2 separate regions of the Homo sapiens genome follow, and region 1 is linked to region 2. Evidence: promoter capture Hi-C in 16 types of primary human blood cells and fetal thymus (Javierre and others, 2016). All regions are on one chromosome and are shown on one strand. The core of a region is centred on a gene start or on the middle of the fragment in contact, and the rest is flanking DNA. Distances in the headings are between cores, read along the strand shown.

Region 1 (5,321 bases), core at 509-3,008, 600 kb after region 2:
GCAGTGAGCCGAGATCGCACCCCTGCACTCCAGCCTGGGTGACAGAGCCAGACTCCGGAAGAAAAAAAAATAAGAACCTTCTTTTCAACATTTAATATGTGCCAAGAACTATGCTAAGCACTTTACATATATTGCCTTCTTGAATCCTCAAAACAATGCTATTGATATGCTAGGTGGGTATTAGCCCCATTTTACAGATAGGGAAGCTGAGGCTCAGAGAGGTAACAGGACTTGCTCAGGGTTCTGCAGATGGTGAGTGATGAGGTCTGTCAGCCTTGTTGAAACTGGCTGAAACAGACAGGGTCCTCTGAGCTGTGGCCCCTCTGAATCCCAGGGCCACAGAGCAGGGGGCCCAGTCACCCTTCCTCCTTGTCCCCAGAATATCCTGCGCCAGACAGAAGAGGGGTCCAGCCGTCAGGAGAATGCCCAGAAGGCCCTGGGTGCTGTCAGCAAGGTGGGCAGTGGGGAAGCTGAAGCAGGGGGAGGTGACAAGGTGGTAGAGAGAAATGGTAGGGAGCAGGGGGCTGGCCGCTGGGGTGGTGACACAGCTCCCCTTACCTAGATCATCGAGCGTTGCAGCGCTGAGGTGGGGCGCATGAAGCAGACTGAAGAGCTGATCCGGCTCACCCAAAGGCTGCGCTTCCACAAAGTCAAGGTACATCGCTGCCCAGGCTCCCCATCTTGCCCTGCCCCATGTTGCTGCTGCCACGCTAGAACCTCCTCTGCCTCCGCTTCCTCGCAGGCCCTGCCCCTGGTCTCCTGGTCACGGCGCCTGGAATTCCAGGGAGAGCTGACTGAGTTAGGGTGCCGGAGGGGGGGCGTGCTCTTTGCCTCGCGCCCCCGCTTCACCCCTCTTTGCCTGCTGCTCTTTAGCGACCTGCTGCTCATCACTCAGCCTAAGAGGTGAGTCCTAGGGAAGGAAGGAGCCCAGGCTGGAGTGGGCAGGAGGGGTCCAGCGGGACCCCTGCTGTCCTTCTGAACGACCTCATCCCTGGGCAGTGGGCAGCGGTTACAGGTTCTGGACTATGCCCATCGCTCCCTGGTCCAGGCCCAGCAGGTTCCGGATCCATCTGGACCCCCTACCTTCCGCCTCTCCCTTCTCAGCAACCACCAGGGCCGCCCCACCCACCGACTACTCCAAGCTTCTTCCCTGTGAGTTGTGTTTCCCTCAGAAAACAACCTTGGGACACTTATCTGACCTCTCAGACCTCCCCCACTTCCCCAGTCTCTCTCTTCTGTGGCTCCTGCCTCAGCCCCAGAGGATCTTTTGGGCCAACTGTGACACTTCCCAATATCCCCACCAGATCAGACATGCAGCGCTGGCTGGGAGCCTTCCCAACCCCAGGCCCCCTTCCCTGCTCCCCAGACACCATCTATGAGGACTGTGGTGAGTATCCCCCTAGAGGGGATGAGGGAAGAAAAAGCGAGTCTTAGAGGAATATGGGGGAGAAGCTAAACAGAATCACTTTAATGTCACCCACCCCCAACCAGACTGTTCCCAGGAACTGTGTTCAGAGTCGTCTGCACCTGCCAAGACTGAAGGACGGAGTCTGGAGTCCAGGGCTGCCCCCAAACACCTGCACAAGACCCCTGAAGGTGAGAAAGTCTTTCATTTATTTATTTTGTATTTATTATTATTATTTTTTGAGACAGAGTCTCATTCTGTCAGCCAGGCTAGAGTGCAGTGGTGTGAGCTCGGCTCACTGCAACCTCTGCCTCCTGGGTTCAAGGGATTCTCCTGCCTCAACCTCCCAAGTAGCTGAGATTACAGGTGCCCACCACCACGTCTGGCTAATTTTTGTATTTTTAGTAGAGATGGGGTTTCACCATGTTGGCCAGGCTGGTCTCGAACTAACCTCAGGTGATCCGTCCCCTTTCACCTCCCAAAGTGCTGGGATTACAGGCATGAGCCTCTGGTGCCAGGCCTTATTTCTATTCTTTTTTTTTTTTAATGGAGGTGGGGGGTCTCACTATGTTGCTCAGGCTGGTCTTGAACTCCCGAGCTCAAGTGATCCTCCTGCCTCAGGCTCCCAAAGTGCTGGGATTACAGGCGTGAGCCACTGCGCCTGGCCGTGTTTCATTTATTCATTCAATAAATATTTATTAAGCACCTACAAAGTGCCACTCGCTGTTCTAGGGACTGTGAATCAAATATATCACACTTCCTTCCTTGCTGGAGCTACGTTCTAGCAGAGGAGGCAGACGATAAAGAATGAGCAAAATAGATAAGTAAATTATAAAGTACATGTGAAGGTTATGAGTGTTATGGAAAAAAAAAAAAGTGAGCAGAGCAAAGAAGGTCAGGAGTTCCAGGGTTGGGCAGACTGAAATTTTCAATAGGGAGGCCGAGGTGGACCTCACTGAGAAGGCAACATGAAGCTTGATGGAGCTAATTTAGGCCCATGGTGTCTGGGGGAAGAGTGTCCCAGCTGGAGGCAGCAGGCAGTGCAAAGGCCCTGCGGCTGGTGTGTGACTGAGGAACTGTAAGGAGGCCAGTGTGACTAGCAGGAGAGAGAAAGGGGGAGAAGCAAATGAGGTCATAGAAGTGGCAGGGATGGGATCACGCAGGACCTGACAGGTCTCTGCAAGGACTCCACCTCTTACTCCAAGAGACATGAGCAGCCACTGCAGGGCTTGACGGAAGAGCAGCCCAGACTCTCTCCGAGCTGCTGTCACCTCCACTTCTGATGCCCTTTCTACCGATGCTCCAGGCTTGTCCATGAATTCCCACACCTACAATGACCCTGAAGGCCTGAGACCCCACGAGGCCCCCTTTGCCTCCTCACCTGCTCCCTGCCCCCACCTCATTGGAGCCTCTGTCTCTCTTCCCCCAGGTTGGCTGAAGGGGCTTCCTGGGGCCTTCCCTGCCCAGCTGGTGTGTGAAGTCACAGGGGAACACGAAAGGAGGAGGCACCTTCGCCAGAACCAGAGGCTTCTCGAGGCTGTTGGATCTTCTTCAGGCACCCCCAATGCCCCCCCACCCTAATGCAGGCTGAGGAGGGGGCACATGTTGGGAGACACCTACCAGTGTGGCACGGAGAGAACAAAGCCCATTCATCCATTGGATTCACTGTCAGTGGAGATACTACCTCTCGTGGCAACCATAGAGATCGAGCTTCAGGACAGAGCAGCCAATGAAAACGGCCGCCTGAACCCACAGCAATAAGAATGAATGAGGATGCCTTGAATGTGTGGCCAATGGAGACAGAGGCTTAGTGCAGAGCAGCCAATGGGTACTGAGCTGGCTGAGCCTATGGCCAATGAGTATTCCTGCTATGCTCAGGGCCAAGGAAGACAAATCTAGGTCATGGCAGTTGAAAAAGGGCCTCATTGGAGATAAAGTCGTAGGATAAAATTGGGAACAGGAATGAGCAGGAAGCCAATCAGCCAAAGAAAATGGTGATCTGGACCCAAGAGACCAGTAGTCACCCTGCTTGTTTCTGCAGCAATGACTGGTCCTGTCTTTTGAGTCTGGGAAATACTAGTTTCCATTCCTGGATGCTTCCTGTGCCCTCTCAAGCCAGTTCTTCTCTTCCAGAAGAATTCAGAGTATGTGTCTCAGAAAATCTGTGTGTGTACATGTGCATGTGTAGATATGTGTGTATATGTATCAGGAAAGGCATTCTGCTGACTGTGGTGTGTGTGTGGTGATTGTGCTCCTGACCCACAAATGACTGAGTGCTCCATTTCTTCCTTTACCCCCCATTTTTCCTATTATTCGCTCCAAGAAAGATGCTAAGTCTGAGCTCCAGAAGAGACTGTGCTGGGTGTGGCTTGGCACCCAGGGGATGAGAGCCCTGAGCTTTGGGTCTCTTGGAGGCTAGGGTTCTGTGGCAGTTGCAGGGCAATGTTATGGAGCAGCCAACGGCCTGGCAGAGGAGCCCAAGGGACTGAAGATGGCCAGTAGCTGGGTCCTGAGGCCCCTGAAGTCTGCAGACCCTTCTCCTTGCCCCAAACACTGGCCTCCATAATTCCTGCCTGCAGATCTCCCAACTTGAACTATAATCCACCAGCCAGCCTCAGCCTTGAGCTTTGGAACCACATTAGATCCTGCATCTGGGTGAAGAAACGGGAGCTGTGGACCACAGGCCAGCCAGTGAACCTCCTGGGCTTTCTTGCCTTTGTCCTGATCCTCTCACAGAAACACTGGGCCAAACAGTGGGGAGAGATTGGAGAGCGGGTGTGGCTGCCCAACCCCATCCAGAGCATCTGCTTCCAGATGAGCCAGTGCCTCGCATGATACCAGAGGAGGCGAGGGACAGAGACAGCAAGGCAGACAGTGGCTGGCAGGGGGGCCCAGGCCCGGGACGAGGCCTCCCCTTCAGCTCAGGCACAGCAACTTGCCCAGGACTGACACTGTCACCCTGACTGCAGGAGGCACAGGGACTCCGGGAGACTCAGAGGGCGAAGAGCACTGGCATTTGGCATGTCCATGACATTGGAGACTCCCCTAGCAGGGTGCCTGACGTGTGGGGAACCCTCAGTAAATAGTGGTGCATTTGTATTGAGGCTCTCTGAGGAAGTGTGTGCTTATAGGAGCAGTGGTCTCCAAGCATGGTTTATAAGGGGATGGGGCTGCTTGGAAAGGGGTCCAGAGCAGGGGTCAATTCTGTTGGGAACTGGGGCTTGAAGGTCATGTGCTAGACCTGAGTGTGTTAGCCCACTCACAGTTCCTGAGGGATCTCAGGTGGTGGTGGTTGTGGCGATGGTGGTGGGTTTGCAACAGCTGTGGTTGGGGGCTGCTGCAGGCTGGGCAATGCCTGGGGCTTTGGCAGGGGATGAGAATGCAGCAAGAAGGATAAAAAGGGCAGTCAGGGCCGGGCACGGTGGCTTGCACCTGTAATCCCAGCACTTTGGGAGGCCGAGGTGGGCAGATCACTTGAGCTCAGGAGTTTGAGACCAGCCTGGGCAGCATAATGAAACCCTGTCTCTACAAAAAATACAAAATTACCCAGGTGTAGTGGCATGCGCCTATAGTCCCAGTTCCTCGGGAGGCTGAGGCAAGAGGATAGCTTCACCCTGGGAGGTCGAGGCTGCAACGTGCCATGTTCGCATCACCGCACTCCAGCTTGGGTGACAAAGCAAGACCTTGTCTCAAAAAAAAAAAAAAAAAAAAAAAAGGGCAGCGATAAAGGCCCTTTACTGACCAGCCAATCATCTCTGTGTTTAATTCAATTATACCTATTTATTGAGTGCCTTCTATGTGCCAGGCATTGTTCTAGGATCTGGGGATACAGATATGAAAAAGACAAAGTCCTTGCCCTCAGGAAGCCTTCATCCTGAGGGTGAGAGGTGACAGGGACAATTACCATGTCAACAAA
Region 2 (5,509 bases), core at 2,889-5,388:
GACGGGCATGCTAGACAGAGGAACAGCAAGTGCACGGGCACAGAGGTGAGATTGTGGTGTGTTTGGGAACAGTAAGAAGGACATCACCACCACATGCATGTTTCGGATGTGTCCTGTTCTTCCCTAGCCTCGGCCTGGAGGGGAGTAAGTCACTTAGGGTCTTGGATCCACATTAAGGAAGTTGATCTCACTCAGTCTCCCATCCCCTTGCCTTTTGTTTCTTGTGTGTCTGTGACTTGTGTTTTCCTCGTCTAAATTTTAAGCTCTGGGAGGGCAAGGATGATGCTCTGAGCTTTTTTGGGGGCTGTGGCACAGCTGCTGGCAGAGTCCAGAGCAGGAAGGCAGAGCGGAAGTAAAGGAACCGAGAGGGCTGGGACCACAGAAGCTAGAGCTGTCGCCCTGCCATCCCCAAACCGCATAGGATTGAGGCTGTCTTGGGGCTGAGCTGTAGAGTGAAGCTCAGGCTTTGCCCTCCTTCCAAATAACGGCAGCTGAGGGATACTATTCAGCCCGAGGTGCGTGTGTGTGTGCGTGTGTGTGTGTGTGTGTGTGTGTGTGTGTTGGGGGTTTTTAGGGAAAGGGGAATGGGGCAAGGAGTGGCAGTGGGAATTTCTTTTCTTTTTCTTTTCTTTTTTTTTTTTTTTGAGACAGTCTCGCTCTGTGGCCCAGGCTGGAGTGCAGTGGTGCAATTCTCGTGCCTCAGCCTCCCGAGTAGCTGGGACTACAGGCATGTGCCACCACGCCCGGCTAATTTTTTGTATTTTTAGTAGAGATGGGGTTTCACCACATTGGCCAGGCTGGTCTTGAACTCCCGACCTCAGGTGATCCACCCACCTCAGCTTCCCAAAGTGCTGGAATTACAGATGTGAGCCACTGTGCCTGGCCTTGCAGTGGGAATTTCTGATGCGGAATGGTTGACATCATATCTGGAATTTTAATTAGAATGAAAAATGGCCCTTCCTAAGGGGCTATATGGGCCACCGTGGACATGGGGCTTGGGAGAGTTTTGAGACCTGGGAGAAATGTCACACGGTGGTTTGGAGGCAGGAGGCTGTCTGGCATAGGCTCAGAGTTGGGTGGGGGAAGGAAAAGGGACACAGAATGAATGGGAATGACAACTGGGCAGCCAGAGAGCTACTTGAAAGGTAGCAGGGAAAGTGGAGTTCTGAAGGGAGTTCTGAGGGGACCAGGCCCCAGGTACCCCAATTCCCACAGGGAATCGAAGTGTTCAGTTTTCTGGTTCTCCCTCTTCCTCCAGTTGCCATCAGAAACTCAGGCACCGCAACCCCAGTGGCTGGCGGGGTGATGTCGGGGGGAGACTGAGCTGCTTCAGGGGGTAGCAGCTGGTGAGTTGGGAGGAATCTGTGTGCTCAGCAAACAGCAGCCTCAGTGCCCGGTGGCTGCCTCCTCCCTCATCAATCAGCCCCAGCCAAATGTCCTTGCATTCCCACCACCCCAAGGGGACTGGGGCTGGGCCAGGGTCCCCAGGGGAGATGGGGATGGGTGGGGGGAGGTGAAGGGGGGTGCTTGGCTTCCTTTCCCTTGGCCTCTGTTCTCTTCTGTCCTGGAAGCTCTCAGTTCTTCATGTCATGGAATGACTATCCTGGCCCCTACCATCGTGGGGGCATCAGCTACAAATCACCTGTGGGGGGCTGCTGGGGGAGAAGGATGAGTCAGGCTGTAGAGTAATCTACTCTGGTTCTCACGGGACCAGCCCAGGGCACAGCCGGCAGGGAGGCTGCTGGCATAGAGGCCCTGTCTCCCCTGGCCTCTGTCTCTGATGAATGATCCGGACAGCAGGCCGAGACCCTGACCCCTGGAATGGACCTCTCTTTCCACCTTCTCCTAGCCCCCAGTCCTCATCCCCTGCTTCCAGCCAAGATCCAGAGGTCTGGCCCCCAGCTCACCCCAAATCTGCTGTTCCCCACTAGGGACTGGGGTCTCTAGACCTTAGCCTCTGGCTCCCTTTCCCCCTCCTCAGCCTTTGCTCCCCTCCGGGACCCAGGCGTCCTGCCCACTCCCTTCACCATAACAACCATTCTTTTGGAGTTGCTTAAGACTTTAATATCATTTCATTAAGTCAGCAAGTTCAGAGAAGGTTGGGGGCACAAAGAGACTGGGGGTGGGCAAAAGAGGGCCAAAGTAGGGGGGAGGCAAGGAAAGATCCCCCACCCCCCTCTCCGTGGAGATGGCTCTGAGAAATCAAATATTGACAATGAGGGAACAGAACTTATTAAATCTGGGACAGGGATGTGTGTGGGGAGCTGTGGGAATGGCCGGATGCCTGGGTTCGGAGGGTAATGAAGGTTCTGGGAGGAGGAAAAGGGCCGTGGCTGGGAGGTGCAGCAAGGCTGAGGCTCGAGGTCACAACTCTTCTGCCCTTTCCTTTGGGATGTACACGGTCTTGCAACCCTGGCTGTTTCTCTAGCCCCGAAGAGCCCCTGGGGAAAAGACCCCCATCATAGCTAGCTGTGGTTGCCCCGCCTTCGTCCCTTCCCCCTACCTCCACCTCTGTTGATGAGCTTCAGCAGCGTTTAATCGGATTGAGCAGTAATTAGCAAAGCGAGATGTTTGATTACCTATTTAGCATAATGTGGGGGGCTGGGATCCGTAGGCACAGCCACAGTTGGGGAGGGGGGTTTAAGAAAAGAAATGGGGTCTGTGCAAAGTTCCTTTCCCCGAGGGACCCATGAACCTTGCCCCTGAGGCTCCCCACCCCACGCCTCCAGCAAATTTTCACTCCTTTGGGACTTTTCCCTAGGGGTTCTGGCCAACCACATCACCTCTGTCTGCCACCCATGGCCTATCTGGCTAGAGGAACACCTCCACGTTCCATCTTAGCTGTGCTAGCTGTGCAGCTGGTTTTGGGGTGGGCGGTACTCCTCTCCTTCCATTCCTGCTGTCAGCAACAGGAGTCTGGCTGGGCAGGAGGAATTATTGGGGGTCGGGGGGAGGGAAAGGGTTGACACTTCTGGGAATAAAGATACGGTAGGTGGGAGGGTGAGGTCAGCGCTGGGATAGGGTGTGGTTAATCCACTTGCTCTTCAGGAGTACCAGGGACTGCCACTCCTGGTAGTGCCAGGCTGGCATAATGAGATCTGTTAGGTGTGAACGCCAAACAGAAAATGGGGGAACTGAGGTGCCAGCTTCTCTTCTCCTCATCCAGCAAAGAAAATGTCATAAATTTCGCTCCTCATGGAAATGTAATCAGTGGGCTCGCTGCTGGCTTTGTCTTAATTAGGCACTATTGATGGAAACAGGGAGGGCGCCTTCCCATCCCCCCACTCGGCTTCCTCCCTGTATTTCCCAGGTCTCCCCAAAGCTCCTCCCGGCACCAGGTACAGCGGTCTTCCAGGCGCCTTCTAGCAGCCCCGGCCCGCAGCGCCCCCTGGCACCCTCGGAGATGTACCCCGGCCCTCATAGCCCTCCCCTCTCGCCTCCTCTCTCACGACGCAGCCTTTGTTCCTATGGAGAGCGAAGCCCCTCCCAGGCCCGGTCACCTTCCCCAGGGAGTCCCCGCCTCTCATCCCCCCCAAAAACCAGCGATGCCTTCGAAAGCCAATCCTCAGATTCCCAAAACTCCAGTTCCCGTCTTCCCTCCCTTTCCCCGCCCCGCGCCGCCCCCCCGCAATCCTAGACCCCAATCCGAACTAAGAAGGGGGAAGGAGCAGGAGGGCAAGGGTGCTCCAGGCCCGGTTTTTCCCCCGGATCCAGCTGCACCCACGGCTGCCTGGAAATCCTGGAACGCCTTCTACATCGCGAATATCCCTCGCCGGCCTGGCGCCCGGCGCCATCTGCTGGACCCGTTCCGGCTGGGGCGCACAGACCTGGGCGCGGGGTCGGGCGATTGGGTTCTCCCTGCCTTTTCAATGTCCTGCGGGGCGGTGGCTCACTGTCTCTCGCCCCAGCCCTTCCAGCTGGGTCCTGACACCAGGCCCCCCGCACCCTTCGGCTCGCCAGATGTGGCTACTTTCCTTTAGTCCCGGAGCCTTCAAGCCCTGGGTCCCTGAGGGGTAGACCTGGGCGGGGTGGGGCCGCGAAGCAGGGATCCAGGGCGCCTGCGCGGAGGAGGCGGGCTCCGAGGGGCCGCACACCGGCCACTCGCCCCTCCCTGCCCGGGGTTGCCATGGGGACGCGTGCAGACGCCGGCCCGAGAGGGCTGCGAGGGGCAACTTCTTAGAGTGGCCCATCGGTCGGTCTAGGGAGGGGAGGGTCAGCGTGGCAAGGTGTGTGTCGGGGGCAGAGGGAAGGAGGGAAGGAGTGCTGGGGAGAAGGGGCAGTAGTGTCGGGGTAGGAAGGGACAGTTGTTGGGGAGAAGAGGCAGTTGTGGAGGGAGAGGGAGCAAGGAATATTTGTGTGGGGGAGGGGGAGGAGAAGGGGCAGTTGTGACAGCTGGGGGGGAAGAGCCATTCTGAGGGGAAATTTGCCTGCTGGTAACCAGTTTAAGGATACCAGCTGCTGGTATAAATACTGCTGGATAAATACTGCTGGATTTATACTGCAGGATAAATACTGCTGGCCCCTGCGGTATTTCCTAGTACTAGAGTGAGCCCCGACTTAGCAGAGCAGTTCCTCCTGGGGCCTGCGGTGTGGGATCGCGTGGTGAACCCCACGGTGCATGCGCCTCAGGCTCTAGTTTGAGGCAGGAAAGCGCAGCTTGATGCTTCTCTGGAGACTGATGGAGGAAGCCTCCTTGCTGTAGTTGGTTTTATTGATTTGCTGGCCTAACAGAACGTTTTTCCTTGGAGCAAAGTACAAATCCTTCAAGTTTGAAATTCATAACCTGAGATCAATGCCTGTGGCAGCCTGTGGGGATGAGGAAGGAGAGCCACAGGTGCCGTTAGGCTGCAGCCTAATGAAAAGAGAGTGCCCAGCGCCTCAGACTTTGCGCCTGGGATTCTGAGCACCTGTCCGAGATCCCCGCTTCCTGCCATCCTACCTTTCTGAGAGAGGCACCACTGTGACCTTCCTCGTGCCCCAATTGCTTTTTCCTCATGACACAATTTGAAATTTATGATTGGATGACTTTTGTCCTTCTTTCTTCCAATCTGTTCTCAGGGCATTTTGAGTCAAATAAATGATCCTGACTGATCTTAACCATTAGCACAGAGTTCCTCAGCCAACTCTGCTAAGAGACCTCAGTACACACAAAACAGTGTTCCTGCCCCTCAGGACTTCAAAGCGATAGACCCAGGTGGCAAATACTGTTTTTCTCTGTTTACAGATGTTGCAGATTTTAGTGGGATTGGGAGGAGCATATTTCCATTTAACTTGGGAGGAAAAGAGGTACATAGGAAAATCATCTTGGTTTGCTTGAATGATTGAACAGTGACAAAGGATGGGGGATGTGCACCCCTTCCTTGATCCTCTCTCACTCACTCATGGTCCTGGAGGGTAGAGTGGATGAGGGTTTGGGCAACCACACTTCAGCTTGATAGATCTTTTCCTGATTATCTTATGTTCTCATACCCCGGGGCAGAGATAGAGGTTCTAAATCCTCATTAGTGGG

The links. The method cuts DNA at HindIII sites, captures the fragments that hold promoters and counts their contacts. A CHiCAGO score of 5 or more calls a contact.
Region 1: a contact is called between a fragment that was not itself captured here and the fragment with the promoter of DNAH2 in region 2, in 1 of 17 cell types (activated CD4 T cells). The highest score is 7.6, in activated CD4 T cells.

The regions. Positions count from the first base shown.
Region 1 is chr17:8,318,008-8,323,328 of GRCh38, forward strand. ARHGEF15 (Rho guanine nucleotide exchange factor 15) reads left to right here. Exons shown (of 16, transcript NM_173728.4): 10 at 380-454; 11 at 563-655; 12 at 743-903; 13 at 1,000-1,152; 14 at 1,305-1,387; 15 at 1,492-1,596; 16 at 2,835-4,504. The coding sequence ends at 2,986. Among named protein-coding and RNA genes, the nearest start is that of ARHGEF15, 10 kb to the left of the region's middle. The HindIII fragment of the contact is 1,237 bases long and covers 1,141-2,377 here.
Region 2 is chr17:7,713,606-7,719,114 of GRCh38, forward strand. It overlaps DNAH2 (dynein axonemal heavy chain 2), which reads left to right and starts at 4,139. Exons shown (of 86, transcript NM_020877.5): 1 at 4,139-5,194. The HindIII fragment of the contact is 13,987 bases long and covers 1-5,509 here.